Linked DNA regions of Homo sapiens: region 1 is linked to region 2. Evidence: promoter capture Hi-C in 16 types of primary human blood cells and fetal thymus (Javierre and others, 2016). All regions are on one chromosome and are shown on one strand. The core of a region is centred on a gene start or on the middle of the fragment in contact, and the rest is flanking DNA. Distances in the headings are between cores, read along the strand shown. Region 1 holds the start of ZNF616 (zinc finger protein 616). Region 2 holds the start of ZNF347 (zinc finger protein 347).

What was found. The method cuts DNA at HindIII sites, captures the fragments that hold promoters and counts their contacts. A CHiCAGO score of 5 or more calls a contact.
Region 1: the fragment with the promoter of ZNF616 here is called in contact with the fragment with the promoter of ZNF347 in region 2 in 14 of 17 cell types (naive CD8 T cells, total CD4 T cells, total CD8 T cells and 11 more); the score reaches 17.6 in naive CD8 T cells.

What each region holds. Positions count from the first base shown.
Region 1 is chr19:52,138,469-52,145,810 of GRCh38, forward strand. It overlaps ZNF616 (zinc finger protein 616), which reads right to left and starts at 1,470. Exons shown (of 4, transcript NM_178523.5): 1 at 1,264-1,470. It also overlaps the pseudogene RPL37P23. RefSeq lists an enhancer at 1,066-1,305 and silencers at 1,426-1,705, 1,716-1,765. The HindIII fragment of the contact is 2,387 bases long and covers 1-1,813 here.
Region 2 is chr19:53,154,365-53,161,153 of GRCh38, forward strand. It overlaps ZNF347 (zinc finger protein 347), which reads right to left and starts at 4,689. Exons shown (of 5, transcript NM_032584.3): 1 at 4,645-4,689. RefSeq lists an enhancer at 4,592-4,886 and a silencer at 4,622-4,871. The HindIII fragment of the contact is 5,586 bases long and covers 1,345-6,789 here.

The DNA.
Region 1 (7,342 bases), core at 220-2,719, 1.0 Mb before region 2:
ATCTGGGTGGGGTCCTCGCCCACTCTCTTCACTACTATGTGTTTCCCGCTCTCATTCTGCACGTCTTTTTTCCCTTTGCTGTTTTTCTCCCCTTTCTTTATTCCCTCTTTTATGTCTATTCTGCCCAATGCTTCGAAATTTATTTCACCTCTTGTTGCTCTTTCTCCCCAAACTTTCCCATTGTCCCCAGCCGCCACGTATTCCTGCCTCTTTTCCCCCATCTGAGCTCCCTGTCTGCTCTCCCTGTTAAAATCCCTCTTCCCTGTTAAATTCCCTTTTCCCTGTTACATCTCCTTTGTTCCCACTCTCTAGCACCCCCAACTTCCTAGGCTTCCTCCTTGCTGTGGTTCTCCCTCTACTCTCCTTTGTTACCCACTCCCCTCTCCTTCAGTCCCAGCACCACGTGGCTCTGTCAGCCGCGGCTCCGACTCTTACCTTTTCCGCCCCCCGCGTCTGACTGCAGTGCCTCCTCCTTTGCCGCCCCTCTCTATTTTGCTGCCCTTCAGCTCCCTGAAGCTCTCCCTTTTCCCTAATTTCTTTATGTGCTTTTCTCCCCGTGCTACTTTCTCCATGCGTCCTCTTGCACTCTTGCTCTCTTTGCCAGTACCTAAATTATCATCCATTTTGCCGTGTACTCATTCTTTTCTCCCCAGTTTTTCTTTCTGTCCCGTCGCTCCCCCTCTTTTCCTCTCCTGATCCCTCTCACCCACACATTCAGGAGGAAAGGGGAGGAATACGATGCCCACCTCCCGGAAGAGCACATTTTCCAGTGGAGTAAAAATTTGGGAAGGAACGACAGTGGGTGTCACAAGACAGACTCGGGTGACCTCCTGCAACGCGGAGTCAGGAAAAGCAGTGGCTGTGAAGGGGCAGCCTGGGGAGGGGAAGGACCCGGCGTGAGGAGGACACTAGGTGGCGCGCGGAGGACACTAGGTGGCGCGGGGGACGGTGTCTCAGGACAGGGAGGGTCTGCAGAATCCCAGGACCTGGGAGAAGAAGCGGCTCCTTCAGGAGCTGGGCAGCGGGCGCTCCCCTCCAGGCGTCGACAAGGGCGAAGCTCGGGGGTCTCGACTGGTGGGAATCCACCTCGCGAGGGAGGACTTGACTTCGCCCGGGGCCGAAGCAGGGGTCAATGAGAGTTTTAAGCAGGAACACGACCTGAATGGGGTTATCGACATGGTTATCTACATGGCAGAAAGGCAGGGGGCAAGGAACAGCCTGAGAGAGATTTTAAACCGACAGGGAAGCAATTCTCGGACTTACGTGGGGAGAAGTGCCTGTTGCAGGGGCGAAGGGGCTATGGGTATTTTAAGGTCCGTAGCGATCCCCAGATCACTGGTACGGAGAAGTGAGGACTGCAAAGTGCACGTTTAATCCAGGCAGACGGAGCGAAGTAATGTTTAATCCACGTAGACTGAAACACACACACAGCGATAAGGCCTTTCCCTGGCGCAATCTGCTTCCGGGAGTGACGGAAACTGCTAGCGGAGAGAAAAAACTGGGAGGCCAGGGGGCGGGGCCTGGGCGAGCCGCGACCAGCAAGGGGCGGGTCGGAAAGAGGGGCCTGACTCGGGGAGGGACCCTGAGAGGGTGGAGCCGGGCCGGAGCGGCAGTGGGCGTGGCTAGGTGGGGCGGGACGGAGCCGCGGCGGAGGATGGGGCGGGGTTTCATGGGGTAAGCGGGGCCGAAATAGAGCCTGTTATTTACTCTGGTTCACAGGCAGCATGTCTTTGGTTTTCTGACTACTTCTTGTCCTGTGAAGCAGCGTTGCTGCCTGCCTATTTTAAGTTAATGTTTCAAAATTTAAGGTTAAAGCTTAAAGTTGTGGTCCACTTATATTAGAAACTAAGATGATTTCTTAACAAGTTGAACTAAGTCAAAACCGATTTTTACAAGCTTGGTGGACTCCATCCACTCTTGCCGATGATGCTGAAGCTACTCAATAGTCAGGGAACTAGGATCTCGCTGGGGATTTGATGTGGAGCCGTGGCTGGATCCAGGAACCCGGAAGACATTATGCCAAGCGAAATATGCTAGACACAGAAAGACAAATACTGCCTGTGCTTTTACACGTGCAAAGTACAAACGTCAAATTTACAGTAACAGATTAGAAGGGTGGTTACCAGGGCTGGGGGATGTATCCTATGCCTTTATCACCATTATATTTTGGAAGCAGATAACTTCTCTGGCCTCACAGATTCACAGCTGGGCAGAAATTTTGCCTCAGGATGAATCACACCTTGATTCTCACCCATGTGTGGTTCAGATAATATTTAGGGGGTATTCTGCCCTAAGAGCTGATACAGGAATGGATTAAGACTTTTGAGAGTTGATACTGAAATGGATTAAGTCTTTTGAGATGGGCCAGCAGTTTTGGAGGCCCAGGTGGGCAGGTCACTTGAGCTCAAGAGTTCAAAACCAGCCTGGACAGCATCGTGAGACCCCCATCTCTACAAGAAATACAAAAAGTAGCCAGGCTTGGTAATGCACTCTTGTAGTCCCAGCTACTTGGGAAGCTGAGGTGTCAGAATTGCTTGAGGCCAGGGATTTGAGATCATCCTGGGCAACATAGCCAGACCTCTCTACAAAAAATTAAATTATCTGGACATGGTGGCCTGCACGTGTGGGCCCAGCAACTCGGAAGGGTAAGGAAGGAGGATCATTTGAGCCCAGGAGGTGAAGGCTGCAGTGAGCCATGAGAAGAGGAGATTTGGTTGGGTGCAGTGGCTAACGCCTATAATCCCCACACTTTGGGAGGCCAAGGTAGCAGGGAGCTAACTTGCATTCTTCTGTTAGCTGAGGCGTTTGATGATAAATGAAAGCAGAAAGTTTGTGACTTATTTACGTTCTTTCCACAGAAAGGCCATATGTCCTTGGCCATAAAGAAAAAGAGACCTACAGCTTATCTGCTTCCTCTATTTTTTTTTATATGTTCTGGACCATGAAGAAAGATTTATAGCTTATTTGCTTTATCTCTTTGCTTTCTCCTGGTCCTTTCAGGCTGACTCCTTTTCCCCAATTAGGGCTCCACAGACTCTACCCTCAAAGGGCATTTTTTTCTCACCCTCCTATAAAATCCCTCCCACAAATAAACCAGGATCCTATTTCCCAGCATGAAAAGTTTGTTGGAAAAAAAACTGAGGCTGCATGGGACCTTCTTTCTCTTCTTCAAAACTACTTCACCTCTTCTCTCTTTTGTCTCTCTCTTCCTAACTGCCCTGCACAATTCTAGGTCCCCAGTGAATCCTTGGGTTGACATGCAAGGGAAGAACCCATAGGGAAAGGAAATCTCTGGCTTTCAGAGATAACTTTTTGGATATCTGGATGCATTCATAACCATCCTTGTGTTACCAGAAAGGGGTCCTGATCCAGAACCTGAAACTTCCATTGCACAATTATAACTGAGAAAATTATTACAGTGAAAGAGATCTGACCTAATCAACTCCATCTTGCTTTTAACCTCCAAGCTGCTCTTGTTCATTCCTGGGCATAGGCTGAACTAACTTTGGAAGGAACTTAGTTTATAGTTTGAAACAAAGACATTAACAGCCCTTTCCCAAAACAAACCCCCTTCCTGCTTGGGGACTAGACTGCCTTTGTAAGACTAACAAATTAGGCACAAGGTGAGAGATGATGGTTTAGGAGTCATGTAGCTGGAGGCTACAAGATTCTCACCCTTCCCAGATTGTTCCTGGGGATAACATTACTATTATAAAACCTAAGATCAGTGCTTGAGATATTTTGCATTCCCTGCACTTGATGGATCACCTGACACCAACCCAGATCCATAAACTGGCTCATCTGGTCTTGTGACCCCACCCAGGAACTGACTCAGTGCAAAATGACAGCTTCAGATCTCTATGATTTCGTCTCCTACCCAACCAATCAGCACTCCCGACTCACTGACACCTACCTATCAAATTATCCTTAAAAACCCTGATCCCCGAGTTTTCAGGGAGACTCATGTGAGTAATAAAAAAATTTCAGGTTCCTGTACAGCCAGCTCCACATGAATTAAACTCTCTCTTGCAATTCCCCTGTCTTGATGAATCAGCTCTGTCTAGGCAGCAGGGAAGGAGAACCTGTTGGGCAGTTACAACCAAAAGGGAGGGTTCTTGGATCTCATGCAAGAAAGAATTAGGGGTGAGTTCACACTGTAAAGTGAAAGCAAGTTTACTAAGCAAGTAAAGGAACAAGGCAGGGTGCAGTGGCTCACGCCTGTAATCCCAGCACATTGAGAGAGGCTGAGGTGGGCAGATTGCTTGAACCCAGGAGTTCAAGAGCAACCTGGGCAACATTACAAAACTCTATCTCTACAAAAAATACAAAAATTAGCCAAGGGTAATGGTGTGCACCAGTAGTCCAAGCTAGTTGGAAGGCTGAGGTTGGAAATTGCTTGAGCCTGGGAGAATTTTTTTTTTTGAGGCAGTGTCTGGCTCCGGTCACCCAAGCAGTAGTGCAGTAATGCCATCTCGGCTCAGACTCTAATTCAACACGGAATGTTGAGCTTCTGAGCGTGATATAGCGGAAGTGCCTTCTCTTCCGGTCTCTCTGGTCTTGGCCGCAGAAGCCAGATGACGAAGGGAACGTCATTGTTTGGAAAGCGTCGCAATAAGACGCACACGTTGTGTTGCCGCCGTGGCTCTAAGGCCTACCACCTTCAGAAGTCGACCTGTGGCAAATGTGGCTACGCTGCCAAGCGCAAGAGAAAGTATAACTGGAGTGCCAAGGCTAAAAGACAAAATACCACCGGAACTGGTGGAATGAGGCACCTAAAAATTGTATACCACAGATTCAGGCATGGATTCTATGAAGGAACAATACTTAAACCCAAGAGGGCAGCTGTTGCAGCATCCAGTTCATCTTAAGAATGTCTATGATTAGTCATGCAATAAATGTTCTGGTTTTAAAAAATACAAAAAAAAATACTGAATGTTTACTCCTGAAACTTATGATGCCTAGGTTGAGAAAGACTCAATTTTCCTCATGCTAAATACTTTATACATGTCCTTTATTCATGCATACATAGGACACTTTACACAATATAATTGTTGAAAGTGCTTCTGAAATACTGTTCAAATTGTCTATAATATTTTTACACATGCACTATAAAAATTAAATTTATCAGACAATAAATATTAAATAATTTAATAAAATTGCATTTTTCAAAGGCTCTAACAATGCATATTTGAGTTATCATATTAAACATTGTATTCTATGATTTTTCAACTGTAATATAATTTTTTTTGAGATGGGATCTTGCTCTCTTGCCCAGGCTGCAGTGTGGTGGTGCAATCACGGCTCATGCAGCCTCCACCTCCCCAGGCTCAAGTGATCCTCTCACCTCAGTTTTTGTGTTTTTAGTAGAGATGGGGTTTTATAATGTTGCCTAGGCCGGTCTCAAACTTCTGGGCTCAATCTGTCCACCTCAGCCTCCCAAAGTGCTAGGAATACAGGCATGAGCCACAGAGCCCAGCCAAAACTACATTTTAAAAATAATTTTTTATCATTACACACTCCACTAGAAACCATTTAACCCAATTTATGGACTTACATTTCTTCCATTGAAGAACTTGAAGGATCCAAAAATCGAGGTGACATTCTCAGATTTGTGTGGCAAAAAAAGAATAGAAAAATAACAGATGCAAAGAATGTGTTCCACCAATATGTGGAGGATCCCTTTTATTTTAAGTTCAGGGAAAGCATTGGAATGATACAAGAAAATAAACTGAAATTGTATAATGTGGAAACAAGAGCTCTGTTGCTAATATGCAAGTTTATCACTGAGATTTTAACAACACAACATGCTAATTATACCTTAAAATATGTTTCTCCCAGTCTGGGCAACATGGCGAAACCCCATCTCTACAAAAAAATCCAAAAATTAGCTAGGTATGCTGGTGTGCACCTGTAGTCCCAGCTACTTGGGAGGCTGAGAGAAGAGGATCACCTGAGTCCAGGAGGTGGAGGTTGCAGTGAGCTGAGATCGCACCACTGCACTCCAGCCTGGGTGACTGAGCGAGACCCTGTCTCGAAATATTACAATATGTGACAGCGCAGCTTCCATCAGAAATAATTTGTTCCTCTTTTGCCCACACAAAATATTCACCTCCACTTCCTCTAACATTTTTTTTTAAAAAAAAAAGCCCAAACATAACTTTCAGTTGCAAGCAAGGATCTCATGACAGTCTCATGACACTTCTGTTCACTGAGAGCCCAATAGAGTCCTCGTCACTCACGACATTTCATGGTGGAACAGAAAAATAAAACCTGAATTAACCCTCACATTCAGAAAAGGGAAACAAAGAAGGTACTACCCAGTAGGTCCATAGCAAATGTGCAATTTTGCTGAGAAGATGAGTTAGGGCCTGGTTCCAGGAGGTCAGGAATGAATAACAGTACTTTTCATGGCTACAGTTCTCCTGAGAATAGGTTTCCAGTCCACTATATTTTGTCGTTCTTAACTTCACCCGATGACATCCCTCATGCAGTATCAGAAAGTATGCCCTCCTTCTGCAGTAAGCATCTTTCCCCAGCTACTTCTTTTCCACTTCAATGTACCATCCCAAAGACTATTATAAGTCTAAATTTAATTTTGTTTTTATAAAATACTATGGACTGATAGAAGTCTCAAAAGTATAACATTATGAAAAGTATAACAAAAGATAGCATTTTATCTGATGCCATTTCAAAATAGAGACATTTTCAAAGCTAAACCCATGACTTTAGCTATACCCACGAGTTTTAGGAACCCTTCCTTAGTTTCAGAATTTTATTCCAGTGCTTTTGAACTTCTTGGGCCACAGTCTAGTTTCTATTTACTACACTTGCCATTTCATCCACTCTCAAAAAACAATTTCACAAGAGTTACCTTAATCAACTGGCAGGTTATTTCAAAGAACGTTAGGGCTATGGCCTTGACTTGGACTTTGTTATAATTTTAACTTGCTGTTGCCCCTCAAACCACTTCTCAAATGTGAGTTTTATCAGTTGCAGATGAGCTACTGCTGCAGACTTAAACATTGCTTGAAAATCAGCTAACTCATTTTTGAAGAATTTACAAAATATTGTGTCAAGTGCAGTTGAAAGCCATATGGCACATTAGCACCTTCTGCTTTCTTTTTGTTTGTTTTGTTTTGTTTTGAGATGAAGTCTCACTCTGTCACCCAGGCTGGAGTGCAGTGGCATGATCTCAGCTCACTGCAACCTCCACCTCTTGGTTTCAAGCAATTCTCTGCCTCAGCTTCCTGAATAGCTGGGATTGCAGGTGCCTGCCACCACGCCTGGCTAATTTTTTTGTATTTTTAGTAGAGACAGGGTTTCACCATCTTGGCCAGGTTGG
Region 2 (6,789 bases), core at 3,439-5,938:
TTGTAACCTCAGCACTTTGGGAGGCCTAGATGCTGGATCTAGAGTTCACAGGAGAGGCCTGCAGGTGACATGAAGCTGTGCAGGTGGGGTTGAAAGCCATGAGCTGAGTTGATAAGGAAAGGCAATGAGTGCGGACAGAGAAAAAAGTGGCTGGAGGACTAAGCCCACGTTCAGAGAACAGAAAGTTCTGGAGACACAAGAAGAGGAAAGCATAATGTGATTAGGGAGGCAACAAGAAAATTACAACAAATAGATGTGTAAAGCTTAACGGGATGTCCTAAAAGCCAAGAAAATAGAAGAGAAAGTGAGCAACTGTGCCACATGCTACTGATAGGAATGGAAAGATGACAGGAAATTAAACATTGAATTTCAAATGGATCCATCACTGGTAAATGAAAAAGAAAGGATCAGTGGAATGTTGGGTATGAGAGCTTGATTCAAGCAAGAGTTCAAGCAAGGACTGAAGGCAAGAATTGAACATAAAGTAAAAAAAAAAAAAATTGTAGTGTATTGTGCTCTTAAACGGAGCATAGAAGAGTACTTACTACAGACTGAAAGGTAGTTTAGAGTTTTGTTTTGTTTTTTTTTTTGAGATGAAGTCTCACTCTTGTCACCCAGGCTGGAGTGCAATGTTGCGATCTCGGCTCACCGTAACCTCCGCCTCCCAGGTTCAAGCGATTCTCCTGCCTCAACCTCCAGAGTAGCTGGGATCACAGGCGCGTGCCACTATGCCTGGCTAATTTTTGTATTTTTAGTAGAGACAGTGTTTCACCATGTTGGCCAGGCTGGTCTCGAACTCCTGACCTCAAGGGATCCACCTGCCTTGGCCTCTCAAAGTGCTGGGATTACAGCCGTCAGCCACCGTGCCTGGCCAATTTAGAGTATTTTTTGTTTTAAAGATGGAGCGTAGAAGAAAAAAAGACTTTATTCTGTGTGTGTGTGTGTGTGTGTGTGTGTGTGTGTGTGTGTGTTTGTTTTTTGTTTTTGAGACAGGGTCTCACTCTGTTGCCCAGGCTAGAGTGTGACAGCATGAACATGGCTTACTGCAGCCTCAAGCTCTCGTGTTCAAGCGATTCTCTCACCTCAGCCTTGCAAGTAGCTGGGAGCGCAGGTGCAAGCCACCACATCCAGCTTATTTTTTTCTATTTTTCGTAGAGACGGAGTCTTGCTATGTTGCCCAGGCTGGTCTCGAACTCCTGGACTCAAGCAATCCTCCCACCTTGGCCTCTGAAAGTGTTGTGATTACAGGTGTAAGCCGCTGTGCCCAGCCCTGTGTACGTGTCTTAATGGAGAACACCACTCCCTAGGTACAGGGATGAATTCCCTTGAAGTTAAAATTTTGAAAGCTTTACAGATTGTGAAGGAAAAAAAAAGTTAAAATTGATGGCACGCATATTGTCCTGAGACTGTGAGTGAGGCTGGTACATGGTACACAATTGCAGGGCCAGCAGCAGCCAGAAGCAGGAACAGGCCATTCCCAGTCACTACTGAGTAGAGATCACAGGTCCTGACAGGTGGGTGGGCCACTTGGAGGTCTTTTCCTTTAGTCTTTGAGATAGGAAAAAACCCAACTCTACATTCTGCTCTCACACTAAACACAGAATACTTCACCTCTAGTCACCAAAATGTGTGTGTGGCTTTTCCCACAATGACCAGGGGACTCCCAGGGGACTCCCAGCTCGGGGGGGGGGGGGGGTTAGGCGGGGGTCCTACAATTTCATTCAACTCTGATATTATCTACAAGACAGCATGGGCCGGGCACAGTGGCTCATGCCTGTAGTCCCAGCACTTTGGGAGGCCAAGGCAGGAGGATCACTTGAGGCCAGGAGTTAGAGACCAGCATGGCCAACATGGCAAAACCTCGTCTCTACTAAAAATACAAAAATTAGCTGGATGTGGTGGTGCACACCTGTAATCCCAGCTACTTGGGAGGCTGAGGCAGGCAGGAGAATCGCTTGAACTCGGGAGGCAGAGGCTGCCTTGAGCCAAGATTGCGCCACTGCACTCCAGCCTGGACAACAGAGCGAGACTGTTTCAAAAAGAAAAAAAAAAAAAGACTGCATGACGAGGTGCTACAGGTTCAGAGCTCAGTCTAAAACTGCCCCTCACTTCAGACACAGTATGCCAGTGGTAACTGTCACTTATACTTTTGAGTGACCTGATAAATACTGTGGTTCTCTTAACCCCTCCTCGGCTTTGATTAACTTTCTAGGACAGCTCTTCCTTCTGACTGTTCATCTGTATCTTCTGTAATATCCTTCATAACAAATGTGTAAACTAAGTGAAGTGTTTTCCCTGAGTTCTTTGAGCCGCCCTCACAAATTAATAGAACCTGAGGTGGTGGGGAGGGGGATGTCAAGGGAATCCCCAGTGTATAGCTGGTCGCTCAGAAGTTCAGGTACCAACGGGAGACTTACAACTGGCACCTGATGCGGGGGCAATTTCGTGGAACTGAGCCTCAATCAGTGGGATCTGATGCTAACTCCAGGTAGAGAGTTTCAGAATTGAGTTAAACTATACGACACTCAGTTAGTGTCTGATAGAGAACGGGTTGTTGGTGGGAGAAATCCGCACACATTTTCGTGAGTGGAGGCGAGACACTGTGTAGAATGTGCCCTGTTGTATTGAGTGTGACAGGAAAGAAAATCAAAGGAAAAATATTTTTTCCTCTTAGTTCATACACTCGCCCACACCCTACCCTATTCCAGGAAAAGGGAAGTGGGTGGACTCAAAACTAAATGAGCGAAGTCACTGCCCTCTGGTTTGAATAGTGATTGCAAATGAAGCTATACCCTAATACTAATAATTGTCAAATGCACGTGTTACGCATTTTACATAAAGGAGTTTCTTCCATTCTCATTTGCAACTGCATAATTTAAGTAAACGTATTTTAAATGTGTTGCATTATTTTAAACCCAGAAACCAATGTCACAATGTCATCATCACATCTAATCAACGCACCACTCACCTGGACTCAGGGTCCCTCTCTTGCTTCCATACTGTGTGTTTCCCTCCCTCATCCTCTACATAGCTCTCATTCTCACATTAGCTTATTTTTTATTTTCTGTGTTTTTCCCCTGGTTCTTTGCGCGTCGTTCTGAGCCCCTCTCATCTCCTGCTATTTCTCCCCTTCTTCCTCCGCTTGCACCTGTTCTGTCCCATTCTGGGGCCTTGTTTCAACTCTGATTCCTCTTTCTCCCCAGTCTTTTCATTGTCCCCAGTCTCCATATATTTCTGCCTCTTTCTTCTCCCATCTCTGCTCCCTCTGTTGAATCTCCTCTTCCCTTCTACACCTCTTGCCCCACTCTCTGGCACCCCCAGATCCCAGGCCTCCCCCTGCTGTGGTTCTCCTTCTGCTCTCCTCGTCACCGGCTGTCCCCTCTTGCTGTCCCAGCACCACGCTGCTTGTCTGCCCTGGCTCCAAATCCCTCCTCCTCTCCCGGACTCTGTCTGAGGAGCCTCCCACTTTCTGGCCCTCTCCCTACCTTGCTGTCCTTCATGTCTCTGGACATCGAGCTTTTCTCTACATTTCCCCAGTTGCTTTTCTCCTTCTGCCTTCTCAGCTCCTTCTCTTACCATCTGCAAATCCCTCGCCCATCCTCTACTTTGCCATCTGGTTACGGGTTTCCCTCACTCTTTCCTCTCAGTTTTTCTACTTCTCTCTCTGTCTCTGCCCCTTTCTCTACCTGCTAATCCCCTTGGTCCACACATTCACAGGAAGGTTTGGACTAAGACGCCTGCATCTTGGAGGAGCGCATTTTCCAGGGGCTGGAGCTGGGCAGGCAAGAACACCGGGTGTCACAGGACAGGCCCCGGGCACCTCCCCAGCGCGGGCTCAGGAGAAGCGGGGACTGCGAAGGGGAGGCCTGGGGAGCAGCAGGGCCCGGCACGAGGAGGAGGGAGGTGGCGGGGCGACGGCGCCTTAGAAGAGGGGTGGGGTCTGCAGGATGCCAGGACCAGGCAGAGGACGCGGCCTCGCCGGTACCGGGGCTGAGGAGCTGCGCTCCAGGGGCCGACGAGGGCGAGGCTGGGAGGCACCCAGGGCGGGAATCCACCTCGCGGGCGAGGACTTTAAAAAGCCCGGGGCGGGAGGAGGGGTCAGGAAAGGGTTTTAAGCGGGAGGAAGACGCGAAAGGCCGGGGACAGGGAGAAGCCTCAGAGCTACTTCAACCCAAAGAGAAGCGACTCCGAACCCACACCGCGAGTCAGCTGGGGTGGAGGGCGCGGTGCGGGGATCTTAAGGTCTGTAGCTGCCGGGCGCAGTGGCTCACGCTTGTAACCCCAGCACTTTGGGAGGCCGAGGCGGGCGGATTACCTGAGGTCAGGAGTTCGAGATCAGCCTGGGCAACACGGTGAAACCCCGTCTCTACTAAAAATACAAAATTAGCCGGGCGTGGTGGCACATGCCTGTAATCCCAGCTACTCGGGAGGCTGAGGCAGGAGAATCGCTTGAACCTGGGAGGCGGAGGATGCGGTGAGCCGAAATCGCGCCATTGCACTCCAGCCTGGACAACAAGAGTAAATCTCCGTCTCACCAAAAAAAAAAAAAAAGAAAAAAAAAAAGGTCTGTAGCGAGCCCGGGAACTGGCTGCGGAAACGGGGCACGGCGGTTCGCAAGTTTAATCCATACTGAGGGACACTCACGCTCGGCGGCGTCACCCGCACCCAACACGATCCGCTTCCGGAACTGCAGAAAACTGCGCGTGCGCGGAAAAGAGCCCGGGCACTCTGGGGGCGGGGCCTGGGGAGAGGCGGGGTCTGCGGACGAAACGCTGGGGCGGAGCTGGGGCGGGGTCTGCGCTTCCCTCAGCCTGCCTAGCCCGCAGTCTCATTTTTCCCGGTTTAGAAACGCTGGAGTGTTCACTATGTCCCCGGGAGCACCGTTCCAATTTGAAGCAGTTTTAAGGTGAAAGAATAGACTTACGTGGACCACTTATGATAGAAACCAAAATGATTTCCTCTTACCAAGTTGAAAACGGTTTATGTTAAAATTGTTTGCCGGCGGGTTGGACCCAGTCCTGCTAGGGAGTCTGCTGCAGCTCAGGAACGGGGATCTGGGAATCGGGGATCTCGGTCTGGGAACTGGGATCTTAGTGGAGGATCCACGAGGCACGGCGATTGGATCCAGCAATTCCTGCAATTAAAATGTATTTAATTTAACTAAAATGTCTGGAAATTATCTCTGAGGATGATTCAAAGTAGAATGGGAAATGCAGCATCCTACCTGGACGGATATGCAATTTAATGCAGTAGCCCAACAGAACCTCCTTTACATTTCAAATCCCCATTCTCCCCAGTGGAAGAGTCAAGCCTGTGCTCAATTCATGGGAAGGTTAAGGCCGATAAGTTAGATCACCAAGGGCTGCTTTATTGTTCTTTAAAACATATATTTTTGTAAAGATGGGAGTCTCGGCCCAGGCTGGTCTCCAACTCTTGACCTCAAGCAATCCTCCTGCCTGGGCCTCCAAAATTGCTGGGATTACAGGAGTGAACTACTGTGCCCAGTCAACTACTGATTTAAACCATGTGAATTTTTAAAAAATAGAGATAAACTGCATTATTTTTGCTTATATTCGTTATTCCGTTCCACACTTGAAATGACTTAACCACAAACAACTTTGACATAATCTTTCTTTGCATCAAAATATGCTTAAATCAATAATTTCTAAATATCATGTAATTTCAAATTCACTTTATGGGCATTCTGAAGGGAACTTGACACAGTACTTTTTATTTTAAAATTGTAATCTATATTGGGTCTATTTTTTTGTTTTCTGTTTCTTAATGTTCTATCAGATGTGGATAACAGAGTGTGGAAAATAGTCACCACATGACAATTGGATTTATTTTCGCCTAAAGAATAGTTTTCCAGTATTTCTAACGTACCATCCCAGTACATTGACTGAACTAAAGACTCACAGGGATACCCTTTTTTCATGTTTATAGAGAACCTAGTTTATACCTGCTATTGTCTTATGTACATTTTCATGTCACACAATTTTATCTCCAAACAACACCCTTATTTATATACACCGTATAGTTTTCACTTTAACAAAATATTAAACGTTTCATCTGGGTTACAATATATGAAAGAAAAAAATAAAAGGGAAAATCATATTAAAAAATAAAAAGTAATTTTACTACAATTGAACATAAACCATGAAATATATTGCTCAATACCATAAACTGAAAATAACATTTCCATAGCCTTTGGAGAAATGCCCTTCCAGTAAAACTGCTTAATCATATTTATTATGTAAGAAACTTTTCCACAGATTTTCACTGAGTTAGTATAAAAACATCTTAGGCATTATAACTAAACAGGATTTCAAAAACATTTTCAACAGTTGTGTTATTTTTAATGAGTCCTATGGGTACAGCGGAAGAATAAATGTAGAATATTACTATCAAGAAAACTAGGGCAGGGCGTGGTGGCTCACACCTGTAATCCCAGCACTTTGGGAGGCAGAGGCGGGTGGATCACTTGAGGTCAGGAGTTCGAGACCAGCCTGGCCAACATGGTGAAACTGTCTCTACTAAAAATACAAAAATTAGCCAGGCGTGGTGGCACATGCCTGTAGTCCCAGCTACTTGGGAGGCTGAGGCAGGAGAATCACTTGAACCTGGGAGGTGGAGGTTGCAGTGAGCCGAGATCACGCCACTGCATTCCAGCCCCGGTGACAGAGCAAGCCTCCGTCTCAAAAAACAAAACAAAACAAACAAACAAAAAAGAAAACTGGGGTCTTCCCAAACCAAGAATTCAGAACTTTCCAGAGTAAATAATTCAGT